4 separate regions of the Homo sapiens genome follow, and all the other regions are linked to region 1. Evidence: promoter capture Hi-C in human tissues and cell types (Jung and others, 2019). All regions are on one chromosome and are shown on one strand. Each heading gives the region's core, a stretch centred on a gene start or on the middle of the fragment in contact. The rest is flanking DNA. Distances are from core to core; before and after follow the strand shown.

What was found. Contacts are between HindIII fragments. The study calls those that stand out against the background at their distance.
Region 2: a contact is called between a fragment that was not itself captured here and the fragment with the promoter of SNTG1 in region 1, in 2 of the 25 tissues and cell types used here (H1 embryonic stem cells and hippocampus).
Region 3: a fragment that was not itself captured here is called in contact with the fragment with the promoter of SNTG1 in region 1 in 1 of the 25 tissues and cell types used here (mesendoderm cells).
Region 4: a contact is called between a fragment that was not itself captured here and the fragment with the promoter of SNTG1 in region 1, in 1 of the 25 tissues and cell types used here (H1 embryonic stem cells).

Annotation. Positions count from the first base shown.
Region 1 is chr8:49,908,382-49,912,956 of GRCh38, forward strand. SNTG1 (syntrophin gamma 1) reads left to right here and starts at 3,026. Exons shown (of 19, transcript NM_018967.5): 1 at 3,026-3,850. RefSeq lists an enhancer at 1,931-2,875. The HindIII fragment of the contact is 7,737 bases long and covers 88-4,575 here.
Region 2 is chr8:50,307,596-50,312,408 of GRCh38, forward strand. The region is part of intron 2 of SNTG1 (syntrophin gamma 1); the gene reads left to right. Among named protein-coding and RNA genes, the nearest start is that of SNTG1, 400 kb to the left of the region's middle. The HindIII fragment of the contact is 3,258 bases long and covers 1,000-4,257 here.
Region 3 is chr8:50,392,829-50,397,579 of GRCh38, forward strand. SNTG1 (syntrophin gamma 1) reads left to right here. Exons shown (of 19, transcript NM_018967.5): 3 at 1,384-1,437. The coding sequence starts at 1,411. Among named protein-coding and RNA genes, the nearest start is that of SNTG1, 480 kb to the left of the region's middle. The HindIII fragment of the contact is 5,713 bases long and covers 1-4,751 here.
Region 4 is chr8:49,643,234-49,648,053 of GRCh38, forward strand. No RefSeq gene overlaps it. Among named protein-coding and RNA genes, the nearest start is that of SNTG1, 270 kb to the right of the region's middle. The HindIII fragment of the contact is 5,277 bases long and covers 1-4,341 here.

The DNA.
Region 1 (4,575 bases), core at 1,776-4,275:
GACACAGCCAACGTTTCACATAGTGTATAATGACGATTCATTTAGATCATATTGTATGGCGGTTTCAACTTACATTTCAAACTTCCTGACCCAAAGGACTTCCAATTGTTTACAAAATGTTCCACAAACTATTATGTTTTCTAAGATTTTTGCACTGTGTAGAGTGGACTAGAGGGGAATTATATCCTAGTTTTATAGAGAGGGATTGAATGAGCCAGTTTAGAATTCACAGTAATGATGCTAGGTTACTACATTTTCTTGTGCATATAATGCTTCATGTATTGTTTTGATTATTTATATTCACATTTTACTATATTTACATTTTTAAAATCATGGCAACTTAAATTAAGAATTTTTTTAAAAAATCATTTAAAATAGACTTTGGAAAATCTGCTCCCGGGGTGAAATTTCTTAACATAATTCTTTAATTCACCTCAGCTTATTTGTCCCTTGGTTTTTTTATGTTGTACTTCATTTATATTCATTTGTAGCATCAGATGTTAGGCGGTATTTAATTTTCATCATCTTGATTTCCATAACTGGTTATACAACTTGATGAGAAAAAATATAAAGTGGATTTTGCTTCTTGAAGAAAAGACATCAAACTATCATAATCATACTGGGACTGTCAGTTCACATTAATCAACTGTTTCTGTTTTCTTTTACTGGCAGGACAGAGGGAGGGGGATAGAAAGATTGAGAGAGACCGCATAAAACTCAATCAGTGCTCAGGAAGAAAAGAATCTGTTCTTCTAGGTCTGAATAATCAAGTGCATATGTTTTTAATTAGCAACATCTTTGTACTCTGTGCTTCATTTAAATGCTCTTATTTGGTGTGTTGATTTTCTGTGGTTATTCATGTTTCCGTATGTCCTGATAAAATAATTTAAACAATCAATTAAATCAACCTTAGTAAGCATAGAATTAAATACAGCAGAGAAAAGCTTCTTTGCTGACAAGGACGGATAGCCCCTGATTAGCATAACCCTCACACGGGGGGTTTGTTTTAATCATCTAACAAAAAGGGGGCATTTTCTGAAACACACACGACAGGTATTGTTTCTGCAGAAAAAAGAAGCACGTGTTTCACCACATTTGTCTAAGGAAAAGGGAAACTTCATTTACCATAACCTTAAGCAACGTTTTCACATGGACTGAAAAGCAAAAGACCCCCTTAAAAATTAGCCTCAAGCAGCAGATACTCTCTTTTTAGGTTTGTGTGTCTCCGTGAGGTCAGATGGATTCCCCAAACACGGTTTTAGAGAGAATCACAACCTTTAATAGATCCTCTGTTAAAAAAGACTGTTAGAGAAAGTTGACCAAGGGCTTCGTTCCACGGCGACCGTTTCCTGCGTGTGCAGCTCCACACAGCGACCGCGGCCTGCAATGTGCGGAGCACAGCGCGGCCCCTTCCAGCCGGAGCTCGCGAGCCGCGGTGGCGGCTGGTGGCCACCCCAGGGAAATAAAGCCGTTGCTGCTGCAGCAAAATGGCTCAAAGTCCAACCAAAGTCTGGCCTTTTCCTGTGAGTAAATACGCGGCCTGTTTGGTTTTCCGTCCCGAGTGATTCCCGGCTCAGTAACGTTTCTCCTCCAGGGAGCCCACTGGAACTCCACTGGCTGTGCCGCCTCCTCGCCCGTCCCCCGCGCGCGCCGCAGGCCGGTGCTTGGAGAGCGCAATGTCCCCGGGAGGGAAGATCCCCTACCTGGAATGGATGGTTCCAGACCAGCGGGAACGCGCTCTAATCCTTGATGGAAGCAAGCGTGGGAGGAAAGCACAACGTCTAGGACTTCCCTGTAGTGTCAGAACAGGAAGAAGAACCTGAGAAGTCGCCGGGGAAGGGAGGCCAGGAGCAGGCGTCCGGCCCCTTCCCACAGCCCGGGAGAAATTAGTGTTGCGCCCCGCCCCTCCCGGACCCCCGTCCCCACCACACACACCAGCGCCCCTCACCAGTCTTTCTCGAATTTCCTCTCATGTCTATCAATAACCTCCTTGTGCAGAAATCTACACTGCACAAGTTAGGAGTCTGCAAGGGCGGGCGGTGTTACAGTCTCGCTCTTTCCATTTTCCCCTTTTACTCCACATAGTTTCAAAGGTCCACATGGCCCTGGTTTTGACCAGTTTTCCAACAGTTTCAACGTTATGTATTTCAACTTCCCGTCTCAGTTCACTGGCGTCTGCACCCGTTGCCGAGTGTGGGTGGCTGAGCCCTGGGTGACAGCACTCGGGACCACGCACCCATACCCTTCTTTATGCTCGTTGTCAGCCAGTTGCCAAGAGCGGGAGTGAAGAGCCTGCAAGGCCCGGGAGAGCGCGGATTCCGGAGTAGGGAGGCGAGGGGGCAGCGTGGGAGACCAGAGGGAAAATGGGCTGAAAAGCCAACAAAAAAAACAACGTAAATTGGGCTTTGCTCTGGCTTTACAAAGGCAGAGATTGTCGAGCCCTCTGACTGTCTTTGTGCCTTCTTTATCCCGTCCTTTGTGAAATAAGCCGTTTTCTGCCCCCACTGCAGGAGCCTAGGCTGTGGGCGACTCGCTAGCACTGCCCTGGGCCTCCAAGCTGCCTGCTCGCTGAGCTCAGCGCTGACACTCACAGGAGCTGCGTTCGCCGGATCCTCTGAGAGGCTCTGCAACGATCCCGATCCAATTCAGCAGCGTTTTAAAAGGTAGCCGAGTGCAGATGCTTTTTCCTGTCTTTTTCATTCTTTCATTCTCTGTCTTTTAAAATTTTAACAATAACCTATCGTTTCCGCGTGGAGGGTCTAAGAATCTTCACTGGGTTTAATTTAGGAATTTCAAATTGGGTTTCTCAAAATTTGAATGTGGTCCCCTTAATTGGTAATCAAGATTGCGGAGTTTTCCAAAATATTCCTTTTCATCTTATGTAATTAAAGATCCACGAGCTTTCCAAAGAAGCTCTGGATTTTCCACGGTACAAATCTATATATTTTTTCTCTCTCTTCCTCTCTCTCTCTCTCTGCCTCTCTCGTGCGTGTATGTGCGCGCCCCTGTGCGTGCGTTTTCTTTCATTTCTGGCATTAGGAAACTCGTGCAGGGCCACTGAAAAGTCAGGGGAGGCTCAGATGTTATTTCCCAGGGATTCCTGTTTTTCCAGAAACGTTGTCACCAAATAAGTATGAGACTGTTAATTTGGAGAAACAATTAGCCCCTACAAAAAAAAAAAAGAAAGAAAAAAGAAAAAAAAAAGAACCGGAGGGGAGAAGGCTAGGGCGGAAGACAAGGAAGCTGCTGCTTGGATTCGCTGGTGGAGGAAAGTGCGACCTGGACCTGCGCTTAGGGGCTCCCGTCCCCTTACTTCAGCACCAGAGGGGATGGACAGCGTCTCCGGACTGAGCTGCAGCCACAGGGACGGAACTACGCTGCCGCCGCCGCTGTCCTTGCCGCCACTGTCGTCGCCACGGGCAGCTGGGCTACTTGCTCCTCGCAGCTAAAAGGCGGTGCCTCCTATTACCCCCTCGCCTCCCGGCCCCCTTCCTTAATGGATGAAAAGTACCCCTCCCTCTACACCTGCTGTACCTAAGGACAGGACTCTGAGGAGTACTCTTGCTCCACAGATTAAACTCTCAGCAGCAACTTCAAGAATCATTTTTCTATAGGGGTCTGGGAGGAATTCTGGAGGAGAGTAAAGTCGAAGTTCTTAGAAGCTCTGAGAAATCATGGGCCGTGCGGTAGGGGTTGAAATGCTCAAAGGTCCACACTTCTTGAAATAAACAGAATGGTCTTGAGTGGATTGCAACTGTTTTGGAAATAGCTTTGTGAAAAGAGGGTGGAGAGCTACTCAAAATTCTACGTTAGAGAGACTGAAAAGACATCTAATTTCATTGCTCGGCAGGTAAGTGATAGCGCTATTATTTTTGTTTTTTAAAATTCTAATGACTTGTCTTATGGTTTAACAGAAAGATCATAAGCAGTGTAATTTTTTCTGGGGTTAACGAGGAGACAAGCAATTTTGTTTTAAAATAATTGTTTCTGGATCATTGTGTGACAAGAAGAATCAAAATAACATACATGTTGCCTTACATAATTACAGTAAACTTTTAGCTGGCCATTTTTCTTATTGCTTATCTAATATCTTTTTGGATCTGGCATATCTTGTTTATTTTTTCCCAAAACTAATGCAATCGTTTGGCAAGATAATTTTGTTGTCTTATGTATGCCATAAAAAGTGATCCTGTCTGTGTTACATAGTATGCAAGACTAAAAAAGTTAAAATAGAGAGGGTTTAACCATGCCCTCTAACATATTTTATATTGTTATAATATACTAAACTATGCATGGGAACAAATACATGTATACATATACACCAGATTTCTCACTCCATGCCAACCTCCAAGTATACCTACACCTGTAGGATCTTACGTAAGGAGACACTCATATTTTTACTTAGCACCCTCTTTCCAGCCTTTGAAAGCTCAAGATTGCTTTCTCAAACCTGATCTGCCAGAAAGCAGAAAATGAGAAGCTTTAGTGTGCCTCTTTAGGAGAGCTGGATTTCAAAATCATTCTAACTTATTAGTTCTGCAAAATACATTTGTCAGTGAAATCCAGAAAGTGATA
Region 2 (4,813 bases), core at 1,379-3,878, 400 kb after region 1:
TTTTAATCCTAATTTATATCTTCATTTTACTTTTCATCATCTTCTTAGCTCATTTTGAAACATTAGGTCATAATTTTCATCAATTTATGGGCATGTCCTATGCTAATGTTGCCTCTAAGTACATTATTCTGTCTTCGATGTTTTTCTTGTATCAGCTTTATATGTAATTCAATTATAACTTCTTTCTGTTCTTCATTTTTGTAGACATCATTTATTTATAGCTGAACTTTTAGGAAAGAGGTTACAAAAGGCTTGTTTTTCTAGCTTCATGGCATTAGAGATCTTTCTGTTGCCCTGTGAATTGTTTTAAAAGGCACTGTCCCACATTCTGAGATGTCCTGGATCTGTTCTAACATTTCAGCTTTCCCTTTGCCCATATTTTTCTTACTCCTTCAATGAAAATATATGTTGCTAGAGGTTTCTCTCAGCTCAGGGCTTTGTTCTGAAGAAAGCTTTGACTGGACAGTAAGTTCACTCACTCCAGTGATGCTGCAATTGCTTCCATTGTCTGTTTTGTTTTATCGTTGTCCTGCAAGGAATCTTTGGAAGCGCTCACAGGACTCAGATGGTCCCAGCACCTTCAGACTTTATCAGAGACCCCTTTCACTCTGGTATTAATTTGAAACAAAAACACTTCAAGTTTCATCTTTTGTTCTCAAATCAGTCCATTGTACACTCCAGAGAGTTCCTATTAGTGGGATTAGTTTTTCTTTATTTAGTTCTTCCATAGTCGTGAGAGGCTTCTCTGCTTCTCTCTGCTTCCTCCACTCAGACGCTAATGCCATGCAAGGCCTATAGAGTTCACTTGTATTTTCTTCTTGACCAAGCAAGCACATTGGGGTGTGTATAGCTATCTTACCTCCTTTTGTGTGGTCATTGTTGTAGATGTTGCCCATATTTTAATATTTTATGTATAAACCACTCTTCTCATTTTCAGAGGGATTTAAGAATGTTAAAAAATCTACATTGTCACCACCTCCATCTTCCTTCTGTTTTCTTTTAAGATTTGTAATATTCCAAGTTATATTAAATATATAGTCAGCTGGGTAGAGCACACTACCATTAATTTAATGTCATTGTTTCTAATGGATTATATGTCATACCTACTCATTTATGTGTTATTAAATGCTTAATAAAATAAAAGTTGCTATCATTTCCCAATTGTCCATAGATATTGGTGTCTTCTAACAACTGGCTCTTAAAGTCAGAAACGCTATTTAGACATTTTTGTTCTTGCTAACTTTCTGCCCTCGTTTTCCTGGCAAATGATTTCCAGAGCTAGATAGTTATACAAATGATGTTTTGTTTTTTTTTAAATGTTTCTATTCATAAACTAGATTTTTGTGTGTTATAACTAGGAAGCAATAGTTTTGATCTACACATCAAAGATGACTTTGAAAGGCTTTCCTGATAGAACACAAATGTGTCTTCCCAAATTCTAGGCATTTATAGTCATCTGGAAAGAGCTAATACTTAGAAGAAATAAAAAAAAAATTTTCTAAAGCTATTTTACAACATTCATAGCCCTTTACTGAATTTAATCAAGCTTAAAGTTCAGAAGATGAAGAAAGCCACAAGCTTTTGGTTATTGTTATATATTTGAAAGGGCACCTAGGTTTAAGTTTCTTTCGAAATCTGTGTATCATTTTCTAAAGCAAAAATGACAGGATTTCATGATAAGAGGGAAGCCGCGTATTTACTCTTTTCTCTCAGGTTTTTGAGTTCCTAAATATTAAATAGACTTTGCCTCTTTCTTTTTTAAGACAAAAAAAAAAAAATCACTGTTCTGTAAAAATGTACTGATTATTTCAAGAAGAGAAAGTCAGATGGTTTTGATTCCTTCGGCCCACATAGTTAAATGCAAAGCTAATGCTGGGAAAACAAATGAATTTCGTATCAGATGTTATTTTACTGTGCTCATACTTCAACGAGATGAGTGGGGGATTTTGACATGCAAGCTGCATTCATTAATTTAGGGCAAATTGATTGTATCTTTCTTGGTAATAAAACTTCAAAAAGCTACAGAAGAGGCAGGTAACATTGAGGGCTGGAACAAATATACCATATCTTAGTAGCGGTTTAGGTATGCAGCTATTTTAAAGAAGAGTGACATTGGCTTCTGAGAGACGAAGTGGAGATTAAAGGAAAATGTGTATCTAATTTAGCTTTAACCAGTTATCTTCCAAAAGTTTTTAAGACCTTAGAAGCTAAGAATTTTAATACTTAGTATCAAAAAAAACCTTTTTATTGCAACAACAAATTAATTCGCTGTCCGCAAACTCCATTGGTCAGTGTCCAAAAAATATTGGACTGAGACAATTAACTGGAAAACATTGTGTTTTAACTTCTGTGGTATTAATATCAAAAGTAAAAAAATTCAGTGTCTATGTGCGTAAAAATAGTCAAACAGCCCATTTTATTTAATCAATATTAATTGAAACTCAATCTGTGTTTGAGCACATCCACTTGCATATGCATCTATCTAGAAGATCCTCGTACATCTAAGCTTACAGTTTAAAATGACCATTGTCCTTCAAGTTGGTCGCCTGGGGAAGGAGTTTACCTACTCGAACCATGTGGCATTGTTTGAAATATCTGCTTTGTTTTATCTCAAACTTGTTACCTGGATTATTCTCTAGTTTTATTAAATAAAATAATTATTGATTCCTTGGAGTGTTATAAAATTTCAATTTCAAAGAATAAAGATTTTAATTGCTAACAAAAATTGCAGAAATGCATCCTGAATGCAGTTCTAAGAGTAGAATTTCAAGAAGCTTAAACAGTCGCAATTTTATTTAATATAAGTATCCTGGCTGGGCTTGGTGGCTCACGCATGTAATCCCAGCACTTTGGGAGGTCAAGGTGGATGGGTCACCTGAGGTCAGAAGTTCAAGACCAGTCTGACCAACATGGAGAAACCCTGTCTCTACTAAAAATACAAAATTAGCCAGGTGTGGTGGCGCATGCCTGTAATCCCAGCCACTCGGGAGGCTGAGGCAGGAGAATCGCTTGAACCTGGGAGGCAGAGGTTGCAATGAGCCGAGACCATGCCATTGCACTCCAACCTGGACAACAAGAGTGAAACTCCATCCCAAAATGAGTAAGTAAACAAATAAATAAATAAATAAATGTAAGTATCCTTTGAAAGTGAGTCTGTGAAGCTATTAAAGTGTTTTTACATAAGATTTGATATATTGGTTAAACAATTAGTATTGTGAGATAAGATATACATACCAGTATAAAATACACATTTCCCATATATAAAGAATGTATGTGTATAATTGAATCATGAAATGTCATAGCTAAATGGGGTCTTACAGTTAATCTATTTCAGCGTTCAATTGCCACCTCCTGCCTTTAGACAAATGAGGACAAAAGTCCAGAAAATTTTATTTCAAGATCACACAGCTACTTAAGGCCTGAGCCAAAATTAGGTCCTGACTTCTGATTCATTGCTTATTTCACTGAGGCATGATTCTTTCTAAAAATATTATGAGCCTTCCTATCAACTTAAAATTACTGTTTTTAAGTTCTGTTTTTGAAAATGTATTTCTTTCATTTTATACTTGGCTATCTAAGGTTTGTGTTCCCTCTGTGTGTTCTCCATCATCCCATTCATCTCACATAGTTAAGGGACTGTGGCTGCAGCCAAGCCTGAATAATTGGATACCTCTGTCAGCATTCATTATCAGGGCCTGCAGAACCCACACAGTGTGCCACTTTAGGAAAGGTTATGTTCCGTTGTAGACAGCAATATGTGTGCTGATCAACCACCAACTTCACATTTTAAATGCAGAGCCTAAGTGCTTTTATAATCATGTTTTGATGAGGTGTGTGTTTATGTATGGCTTTTGACAGAAAGCCTTTTCTTAACAGGATCCCTTGAGTGGATACATTGAGTAGGTTGTGTGCCTAGGGTTACGAATCATCTTTTACATACAAACGTCTTATTCTTAAAATATGTATTTTTGATATGCATAATGTGACTGAAAATATAAATGCTTTGGGCCTATGTACCTTGAAATTCTGAAAATATATTTCAAAATCTTAAATTGTTATCCACTACAACTTGTTCAATTCTCTTTATATGTATATTTCTTATGAACTCAACAAAGAAAACACTTAAGAATGTAGGTAAGCGTTGGAAAACTCTATATCTTGAGATTATTCTCAAAAATATTCTGTAGAAAATACATGGAAATACACTTTGTATAGTTTTTGACTGACCCAAGAGTAATGTGAAATATTCAATTAAGTTGCCAGGGTAACCAAGTACTAGTCTTTGCATTTAATTTCTCTAGTTCAGTTATTTGATATTTGTGCATTGTCTGTTCTCCTGGGATCACTGCAGACTCTTAATTATCCCCATTAATGGAGAGGACTGGAAGAATAGATTCTCCTTAATAACAGTAAAGAAAGGTAGTATGCATATGATTTTGGAATGTATTTTGTGAAGAATATGTTTTTGTATGTTTTTAAAATAGAAAAAAATCCAGCTGTATGACAATGGACAAGTTACATAGTCTGCTCTGGGTTTCACTGTGGGTTCAGTGTTCCTATTTTGAAAATATAAAAATTTAATAGTAAATCCAAAGCTATTAGAGTGAATATTATCTGGGATTTCAGTGATATTGTAAAATATTAAACCAACAAATGCTTTTAGTTCCCCCCATCTATCTTTTCTGGTCAATTCCCCGCTAGTCTTATTTCCAAGGAGAGGGATGCTTAGTGATTGTCTCAAAATAACACAGATAGATGGCCCCAACGAAAGATAGCTTATTTCTCCAATAATCTTGATATGAAATTTTGGTAT
Region 3 (4,751 bases), core at 773-3,272, 480 kb after region 1:
AGATGTATGCATTAAAATTAAATACAGCATATGAAACAAATATGAGGTTATATTTAGATGGTTCAGTATCCTCATGTCTATTTCTCTGGTTGCTTTTTAGTAGCAAGAAATTGATTCCAGACATCTCTTGTTTTTATATAATCAATACATATCAAAATTTTCCTTCTTTTGTAGTAAAAGAATAACTTTACATCACAGTTAGAGACAAGAAGATATTTACAGGTTCTTCAAATAAAATGTTTAAGAGCAATTTTGAAAAATAATTAAGTTAGTAATAAAAATTTCATTAATATTAATGAGGCTCACAATCCACAAGATTTATCTAGGGGAAATATTTAATAGATTATATGATGCATTTGGTTACTACTGATGATGGCTAATCTCTTTCTTTCAAAGTCAATAGTAATAATCTATCAGTTCAGTGACAGCATGGTGATACCTCCTACTCTGTTTTGCCACACTTACCTGATAAAGCATTAATTAATCTTGTATAATTAAAAAGAAATGCCAAAGAAAGATATAATAGTTTACTCTTCCAAAGGCTGAGATGAGTAATTTTGAGGAGTACAAAGTCTTCTATTTTGGAATTAATCATTCATCTTACTTTGACGTCTCATTTACTTATCCATTATATTTTGGCTCTGCATTGCTTTGTTTTATAGTGTCTGGGTGTCAACTTTCCGTGACATATCTTAGTTTGGTTAGGTGTATCACGTAATGAAAACAAAACACTCCAGAATAATTTTACAAAAACATCTATATGTATTTAAATCTACATTCATCATTTAGGTATTATAGTGACCATAGATGAATCTATTTTAGATATTTTATACATTGATTTTTCTTAATATTATTCACTCTGACAAATAGCTTGCTTCCTTACATCATATTGTGAATAAAATTTTAAGTTCCAGAGAGAATTATTCATGCATGTAGCTTTTTAATTAAAAAGAGAGAGATTAGTCAATCTTTTTTCATGAGGTAACCATATGAAAGGCAACTTTTAATTGCTCTTTTTGAAGTTTCTTTCTCAATTGCAAACTCAGGTTTCACAATGCATGTTGGGAATGAGCGAGAAGAGGTTGATCTGATGATACATGGAGTCTGAATGCCTGCTGGCGGGGTGGAAAGGTGCCTGGAAATGCACACTCAATCACACTGAATGATGGCAGGATATTTATACTTCCTAAAAGCTGGGGATTAAGACTTTTTTCATCTGTTCATTTTCCTCTCTTCAGTATACCCTGGAGCTCTTGTTCCTTACAAGTGGTTGTAAACACAGTTTTCCCACAAGTTCTGCTTCACGATTTCCTCCACTATATTAGTGTTCTCTCTTACATGCCATGCTGTGCCTAATGGCTTACCATTTCTGTGTCTTTTCAGACGACATCCTTTGTGGTGCCACAGCACATGGATTTCAGAACCGCCTGTGAGGAGGTGAGTACAGAGCTTTCTGCTTTTCAAACAGGGAAAACAGAATATAAGCGGGAAACACTTGGCTCCAATTTATATAGGGAAATTCTGCTTTTGGCAGAAAATGGAGAGAGGAGGATGGGCTCTTTTTCCTTCCAGATTACGTTCTCCTTCTGCAAAGATAGAAAACCTAACTGTGCATGGAAAGCCTTGGACTTTAACTCTTTCTTTAGGAAGACTGGAGCATATTGAATATAATTGAGTTGCTCCTCTTCACCAACTCTGCACATTTCAGGTAGTGGAAGTGTTGGAAAGAATTCTTTTCACATAAATGGTAATAAATTAGAAGACATCTAAGGTTCCTTTCAGCCCTAAAATTCTATGATTTTATGATTCTGATAGTATTTAAGTAATTCAATATTATTTAAGTATTAATACACAAGAATTTAGATTCTCTGTAGAGCTGTCATCACATTTCAGCACGAGTTAAAGTGGCACATTAGTATTTCAAGGATGATAAACAGTGTTCAAGTTTACAGTTCAATAGTGCATGGATGTGGGCCCCCAGGGAATACAACCATTCCATCTTAGGAAGAAAAACTAACTTTTTTTTTTTTTTTTACTAAATATGTAACATTCAAAGTATTGTGTTTTCATTCTTCAGGCAAAATACAAATACTTGCAGCTTAAAAATGTTTTATATTTGTTTAAAAGGTTTAAAGCATTTTTTTATTGTATATAAACAACTCAACAAAAACCAACCATAACTGCTTACCTCTGGTAGTGTTAAAATCAAACTAGGGAAAGACTTCAGTTCTTAACCTTGTGAAGACTGTTACTTTAGTGAAATGTCATGTGTTTACAGTTCTTGCATGAATTTGTGGAAAGTAACTCCTTATTTTCTTCTAAAGCAATTGAAAAAATATATATTTAAAAATACTTGTCACTGTTGGTAAGAAGTTCAGAATATAAATATAAGGTTTTTCAGAAAACTAATAAATTGCTTTTATATTTCTATTCTTATGTTTCTACTTTTAATGCTTTAAGCATAACATTTTAAACATATCTCTATGCTAATACTCATCAAATTACAAGGCAGTTTTTTTGTTTACAAACCTTTCTCATGTGCTACACTGAATACTATAAGGTCAGAGTGTGTACATTATTCATCTTTTTAACTTAGCACTTATTGGTTCATATATTTTTAAAAACTGAATTAATGTTCTAGAAGCTTTGTATTTTAAATTTTAATTGTCTAATTTCTGTTTTTTTTTTTTTTTTTAATGGAGTCTCACTCTGTCGCCCAGGCTGGAGTGCAGTGGCGCGATCTCGGCTCACTGCAAGCTCTGCCTCCTGGGTTCATGCCATTCTCCAGCCTCAGCCTCCGAAGTAGCTGGGACTACAGGTGCCTGCCACCACGCCAGGCTAATTTTTTTATTTTGTATTTTTGTATTAGAGACGAGGTTTCACCGTGTTAGCCAGGAAGATCTCGATCTCCTGACCTCGTGATCCACCCGACTCGGCCTCCCAAAGTGCTGGGATTACAGGCGTGAGCCACTGTGCCCGGCCCATTTCTGGTTTTAATTGCATACTTAATTTTAAAAGTAGCAAGTCTTCTATTTCCATTAATGTGCAACCTTATGTCTTGAGTAGTAAGGCATTCATTGAAACCCAGTGGATATTTGTGTGAATGAGATACTTATGGGACACATGACATTCATATGGTACAGATTGGACAGTGGTCAAATACTATTTAACAAATGGTTTATTTTGGATTTCAGAGGCTGGAAAGATTTACAAGAGCTTTTTGTAAACAAAATTGTTTTGATGTACTAATTTGGGATATTTCTCAAATTCTATTAAGATACAGAAGATTTATTTAATTGGTAATACTGTTATTACCATACTAGCTCTTGTAAATTAGTAATCCTTAGTACTGAAAAGAGTGACAACCTGTTACTGAGATAACAATATAGAAGAGGAAATTAAATCACTCATGTGAGATATAGCTAAATATTGCTGAAGTCACTATATGTGATGCCAAAAGACAATAGTGATCAATTTTGGGGTAAATATTTACTTAATGGAATCCAAGTGTTCAGGAAAGTGAGGACTCATCTTTGAATAGAATGATTTCAGAAGGCTTCAAAGAGAAGGGAGTCTGGTGCCAGGACTCGAATAATGGCTAGAATTTAGTTAAGGAAAAGGCCATGATCAAAAGTAATCCAGGAATGGGAACGTAAATGATAAGATGCAGTTTGAAGCACTTTGCATAAAAGAACATTTAGTACACTACTGCTACAATGCAGTACAGTATAAGACAAAACAAATTAAATCGTATTTGGCACTTGAAACATGGAAATACTGTGGATACTTGCAAGAAAATTTGCAGTCCATTTTATTATCTCTGCCTACTTTTTGTAGTTTGTCATTTCTTATATCTGATATTGTGAGTATATTTCAAAATTAATAGACCTTAAATTTTAAAGTTTCATGAAAATACATTTTGTACATTTTGAAAGACTAGAATATAAATTAAAAAGGCCTTAACTTTTAAGTAGAAAATGGATGATATTCTACTTTTATAAAGATCCAACCTAGGTCCTATGTTTAAGAAACTACAAATTCTTAATAAGTTTAAATGTGAGAGAAGTTAAATGTGAGATTTGTTTAAAGAGTAAACCCATGCAAATTCATAAACATTTTCTTGATTTGCAGAAAGCATAGCTAATTAATAATTTAAATATGTTGCCTTTTAGGCAATTAGGAAGTATTGCTTTTCAATAATTCCTTTAAGCAAATAGTCTCCAATGTGGATTTTGTAAAAAGTTCCATCTAGAATCGTCCATCAGTCAGAGAAGAAGAATATTTTACTTATATCATTTTTAAATGAATCATCCCTTTAAAATTATGTTTGGTGTATATTTTATAAAGTACAAAATACATTCATACAGTATCTATATCACATGCATTCCTTTATTTATGTGCAATGGTATGCAAAGTCAACGAAGTTTGGAGACAAATGATGTTACATTAATAAAAAGAAAGAAGAAGATTCATGTCTTTAGTTTATATTAAAATTTGAGACCAATAATTATGTAGGTGATTTTCGATATCTAAACAATTTGGGTCCACAGATCTGTAAAGACTTTGCAGGTGGGGCTGTTTTAGGTTTGCAGCACCAACCTGCAGCTGCTCCCATGATTCGGTCTCTCATTTTTAGCTCTTAAAGCACTTCAGGAAGGAGTGGAGATCAAACTTCTTCCTCTATCAGACAGTCTCCTAGTAGCGTGGCTTTGGGGAAGATCATCCTGTAAGTTCCAGAGTAGTCTCTTACT
Region 4 (4,820 bases), core at 453-2,952, 270 kb before region 1:
GAAAGAAAGAGAGAGAGCAAGCTCCAGGCTTTTCTTTTATTATGAGGACACTGATCCCATTATGGCGCCCCTTCCTCATGACCTCATCTAAACCTAATCATCTCCCAAAGGCCTAACTCCAAATACCATCTCATTGGCAGTGTGAATTTCAACATATGAATTGAGGGAGGACACAAATAGACACAAATATTTGGTTTGTAACACACATTTTTTAAAAGAGATAGGGTCTCTGTCACCCAGGCTGAGGAGCAGTGGCAGGATCAGGGCTCATTGCAACCTTTGACATCTTGGGCTCAGGCAATCCTCCCACTTTAGTCCCCTGAGTAGCTAGGACTACAGGCATGCACATGCACAACCACAATGCCTAGATAATTTTAATTTAATTTAATTTATTTTTTTTGGTAGAGACGTGGTCTTGCTGTTTTGAGGCTGATCTTAAACTCCTGGCCTCAATCAACCTTCCTGCCTCAGTCATCCAAAGCACTGCGATTGCAGCATGAGTCACCGTGATTGGCCCATAACATACTCTTTTGGGAATTTTTCTTATCCTCTCAATTTTCTGTATTTTAAATAACTCAAACTGTTATTGTTTCAGTCATCAATAATAGACTACAACTGAAATCTTTCTAGGCTTTGGCAACTAGAAAGAGACTAATCAAGTTAGTTTGGTCAGGTTAATGTGCCTGGTAAAGTGGGTGCATTAGATAGAGTGGCTGAGACGTTCCTTTATGGGGGGAATACTTTTTTAATGTTCAATTTTGTCATATTTATTTAATTGAGCATCAATCATTGCATGGGTGAATGAAATAGGTGATATTTAACACCTAATGCAACTATTGGTTGAGATGTTCTTTTATTGGAAGGGAGGTACATTTTTAGTGTTCAATTTGGTCATATTTACTTAATTGAGCTTCGATCATTGTGTGGGTGGGTGAATGAACTAGGGAATGTTTAACATCTCATGCAATTATTAAATTCTTTCATTCTGGGTTTGATGGAGCACCTCCCATGTCTGCAATATTATGAGTGACATAAAGGGACCCTGGGAGAATGATAGAGAAACAACAATTAAGACTAGAATTATACATTAAAAATGATATAATAAAAAATAAGATTAGACTAGACTGAAATGAAAACACTACAATGGATTCCTGTTGGTGAAATGTAGTTTAACTAGGATATTCTAAGACATGAAATATTTTTTTCCTCAGTTTTAAGATACTGAAAATAAACTGCTTATATTTTAGTGTGATAGTTTTGTAGTTGACTCAGATGTTAGTAACATTTAACAAAGTTCTAATTTTCTTTGATATATTTGAAATAATACATTTTATTAAAAATAGTTGGCAACAAGAAGTGTAGTCTTAAATATTAATAAACTATATGAATGTTTGTATAAAAATTTATTTCCTGCACTGCCTATTAGTTAGAAATAAGCACTCTGGGGTGTCTTATAAGCTTTCTTTGAGGTTAAATAATTAATGAAAATTTATCAAAGCTTAATTAAGTCATTGGCTTTAAATGATAAATGGAAATTCAAGCATTATCTCATCAATGTAATTCTCTGAGGTTTAATATATGCACACATATTAAAAATATTTCTTAAGCAACAAACAAGGATTTGATTACCTATTTTTAGCCTAGGAAAATGTTGACATTGCATCTCCAAGGAAGAAACTGAGTTAAATATAAAAGCTTTTGTAACATACTTGTTTCATATCTTTGTATCATTGATAATTACTTTTCCTTTATTATTAATGCAATGACTAAGTTCTTTATTCACATTCAACAGCAGGAAACTCAAGTTCAGCTTTCTCTGAAATAATTTTGTTTTCCTATAGAGAGAACCAGGGAAGGGCATATGCCTGTGTCACAGTCACAGTCTGCCAGCTCTTACTGGGGCTCTTTGTCTGGATTTCCCTTTCATCAGCTCTATCTCTGCCTGCTACCTCTCTATGCTGATGATACCTTATCCTTAGCCCCTAAATGCCCATGCACTCACCCTTTATTTCACAACTACATGCATATTTGGCAATGGATAACTGTTTTAAAAAGCTTTGTTAAAGTATTGGTGTGGTGAAGGGACACATATAAAAATTCTTACATGAAAAATGTGTAATGGTTCCTTCCTTCCTTCCTTCCTTCCTTCCTTCCTTCCTTCCTTCCTTCCTTCCTTCCTTTCTTCCGTTAGTCATTTATTGAGTGCCTACTATGGGAGAGCATTCTGGTAACATTCTATCAGCATCCATGAAGAGGAAATTATCATATAACAATTGTAGTGTTTGAGTCACAAGACTTAGGTCAAGAGCTGGGCTCCTCACTTGTAATATGTGTGACCTTTAGTTGGTAATGAGCATTTCATAAACTTTAATAATATCTTCCCTATTAGTGTAGGAATAATAATAACAGTAATAATAACCTATTAAGTGTGTTAAGAAAACTAAAGAAAATAATGCATAAGATATTCTCAGCATAATGCCTAGAATTAAGCATCCCATAAATGTTAGCTGGTATTATTATGTCTAGTTTTATTATTATAATAAAAATATGGTCATCATTATATAATAGATGCTAGAGAATCCCATTTGGTAATTGGCTTTTTCAGTTCTCTGTTAGTCTCTTGCATGAGTAAATTGAACAATTGTACTTGATATATCAGCACAGACATAGCCCACTCCTAGAGCAAAACACCACAGAAAACTAAAAAACTTTAGAATCAATGAATTAATCAGAAGAATTTCCCAGGTTGACTCAGAAAATATCACCAATCAGTCCATTCTGTCCAAGCAGGCATACTGTGGACATCCTGCACCTGCTGCAATAGTTGCTTCTAACAACCTCCTTTTTTTGTTCGTGTTCCACTGGAGTCCTTTGGGGTATTATCTCTTCTTCCAGTCTTGCTTCTGTCTTTGGATTAGCTGCTAAACTTTATTTTTCCACCCTCTCTCTGAAAACCTTGGCTCCAACTGTGCTCGTACACTTTCCAAGGGAACTCGGCTGCCACAAATAGGATGCTGTGCCATGTTGAAGTACCTGGTACTCACACCGTGTTTCCATCCTATGAACACAGACTTGTCCACCCTGCCATCAGCAAAAGAGGAAGGTGGTCAGGCTGTGAATACTTTTTTCCAATAAAGCCCAGTGTTTATTCAAGCAGTAAGCCTTGTTTTTTCCTGAAATCACCATAATTACCTCTTTACCATTTACGCATGAGAAAACTTTATATAATAAAAATCTGTTCCTATTTTATTATGTAATATTTATACCATAATATAGGACAAGGCCATTAGAAAGTTTGTGTTAAATAACAAAAGAGATAATTTTCCCACGAAAATATTACTGCAATTTAAATGCGACTAAAAACCTTCATATCTTGAAAATTGTCAAAACTTTAAGACAATATTTACCATATACTATAAGCCACTATTTTCACATCTGGCAGCCTATCTGGTTTCTTTCTTTTCTTTTACTTCTTTCGAATCAGTGGCCATTATAGAAGCAGGAACCTAGATTCACAGCACCATTGATTAATACGTTCCACTCTGTCAGTTTACATATTCATCAATTCTTTCCCACTTGTATTTTACTTCACAGTTCAGGAAAGAAAACATTCACATGCAATACCCTCAGATTGCTAGTTTAGAGATATCCTTTTGTATATCAGATTCCTTAATAGTTTAGAGATATCCTTCTTTATATCAGATTCCCTAATAGTTTAGAGATATCCTTCTTTATATCAGATTCCTTAATAGTTTAGAGATATCCTTCTTTATATCAGATTCCTTAATAGTTTAGAGATAACCTTCTTTATATCAGATTCCTTAATAAAATCGACATGAACCATAAAAACACTAGAAAGAGTACAAATCCTGCACAGAATTAGATTATGTGTACTGAAATTATGAAATTAAAACATTAGATAATTATGAAGTATTATCTATTTTCAAAAAACACATACAAAATGAAAAGGTAACATGGTAAAATAATGGTTAAATATAGAATAACAATTTATTGGATATAAAACGTTAATAGTAAGGTAAAGTGGAAACACATCATATTCTTCTAAAATCTAGGGCCATTTTATGTGACTAATTAAAAACGTGACTTTAGTAAGAATTATTAAATCTGCAGTTTGAGGTATGTCATTTCTTTTTCCACTAGACCCTCTAAAGAAATATAATAAAAGCATGTTACATTTTTATTGAGAAAATAAAGTAAGCATTACAGAATGTGCAAAGGAGTAAATAAGTCAATTCACATAGTCACACCATAGCATGGTGATCCTGAGCAAAAGACTGGGATGTTCCTCCTCCATGCCTGTCCTTGATCACCTGGTTCTGGATGTGGGAACTGGGGCAGCTGCTTCACAGTCTGTGTCCCATTGTCCTCATCTGGAACCAGGTGATGCGAACAGTGCTAGCTCACAAGCCTAAATGAGTTAACGTATGCAGAACTCTGAGAGGAGCACTTGGCACACAGTGCTGGGACATGCTGGAGTTTGTGGCTATTATTATTGAGGTGAAAATAGTTTTAAAATAACCAGTAAACTGTCCTCAATATTTTGAAGAAAATTGAGATCCAGAGAAGATCAGTGATCTCTGAGTATAAAAGGAAGGCAAATAAATGTATCAGTCCTGAAAATAAATTGTGGCGTTGTTCTTATGTGTTACATCTATTTGAGAGTTCCTTTTCTTCAGGAAATTTTATAAAATCATCAAATTTTTTCAAACATGTTTTACTGACCATGTCATTTGTGCATTAAGGAGATCAACTTGGTGGACTGCTCCAACATTAGGAACTAGCACACCTGAGGCAATCAG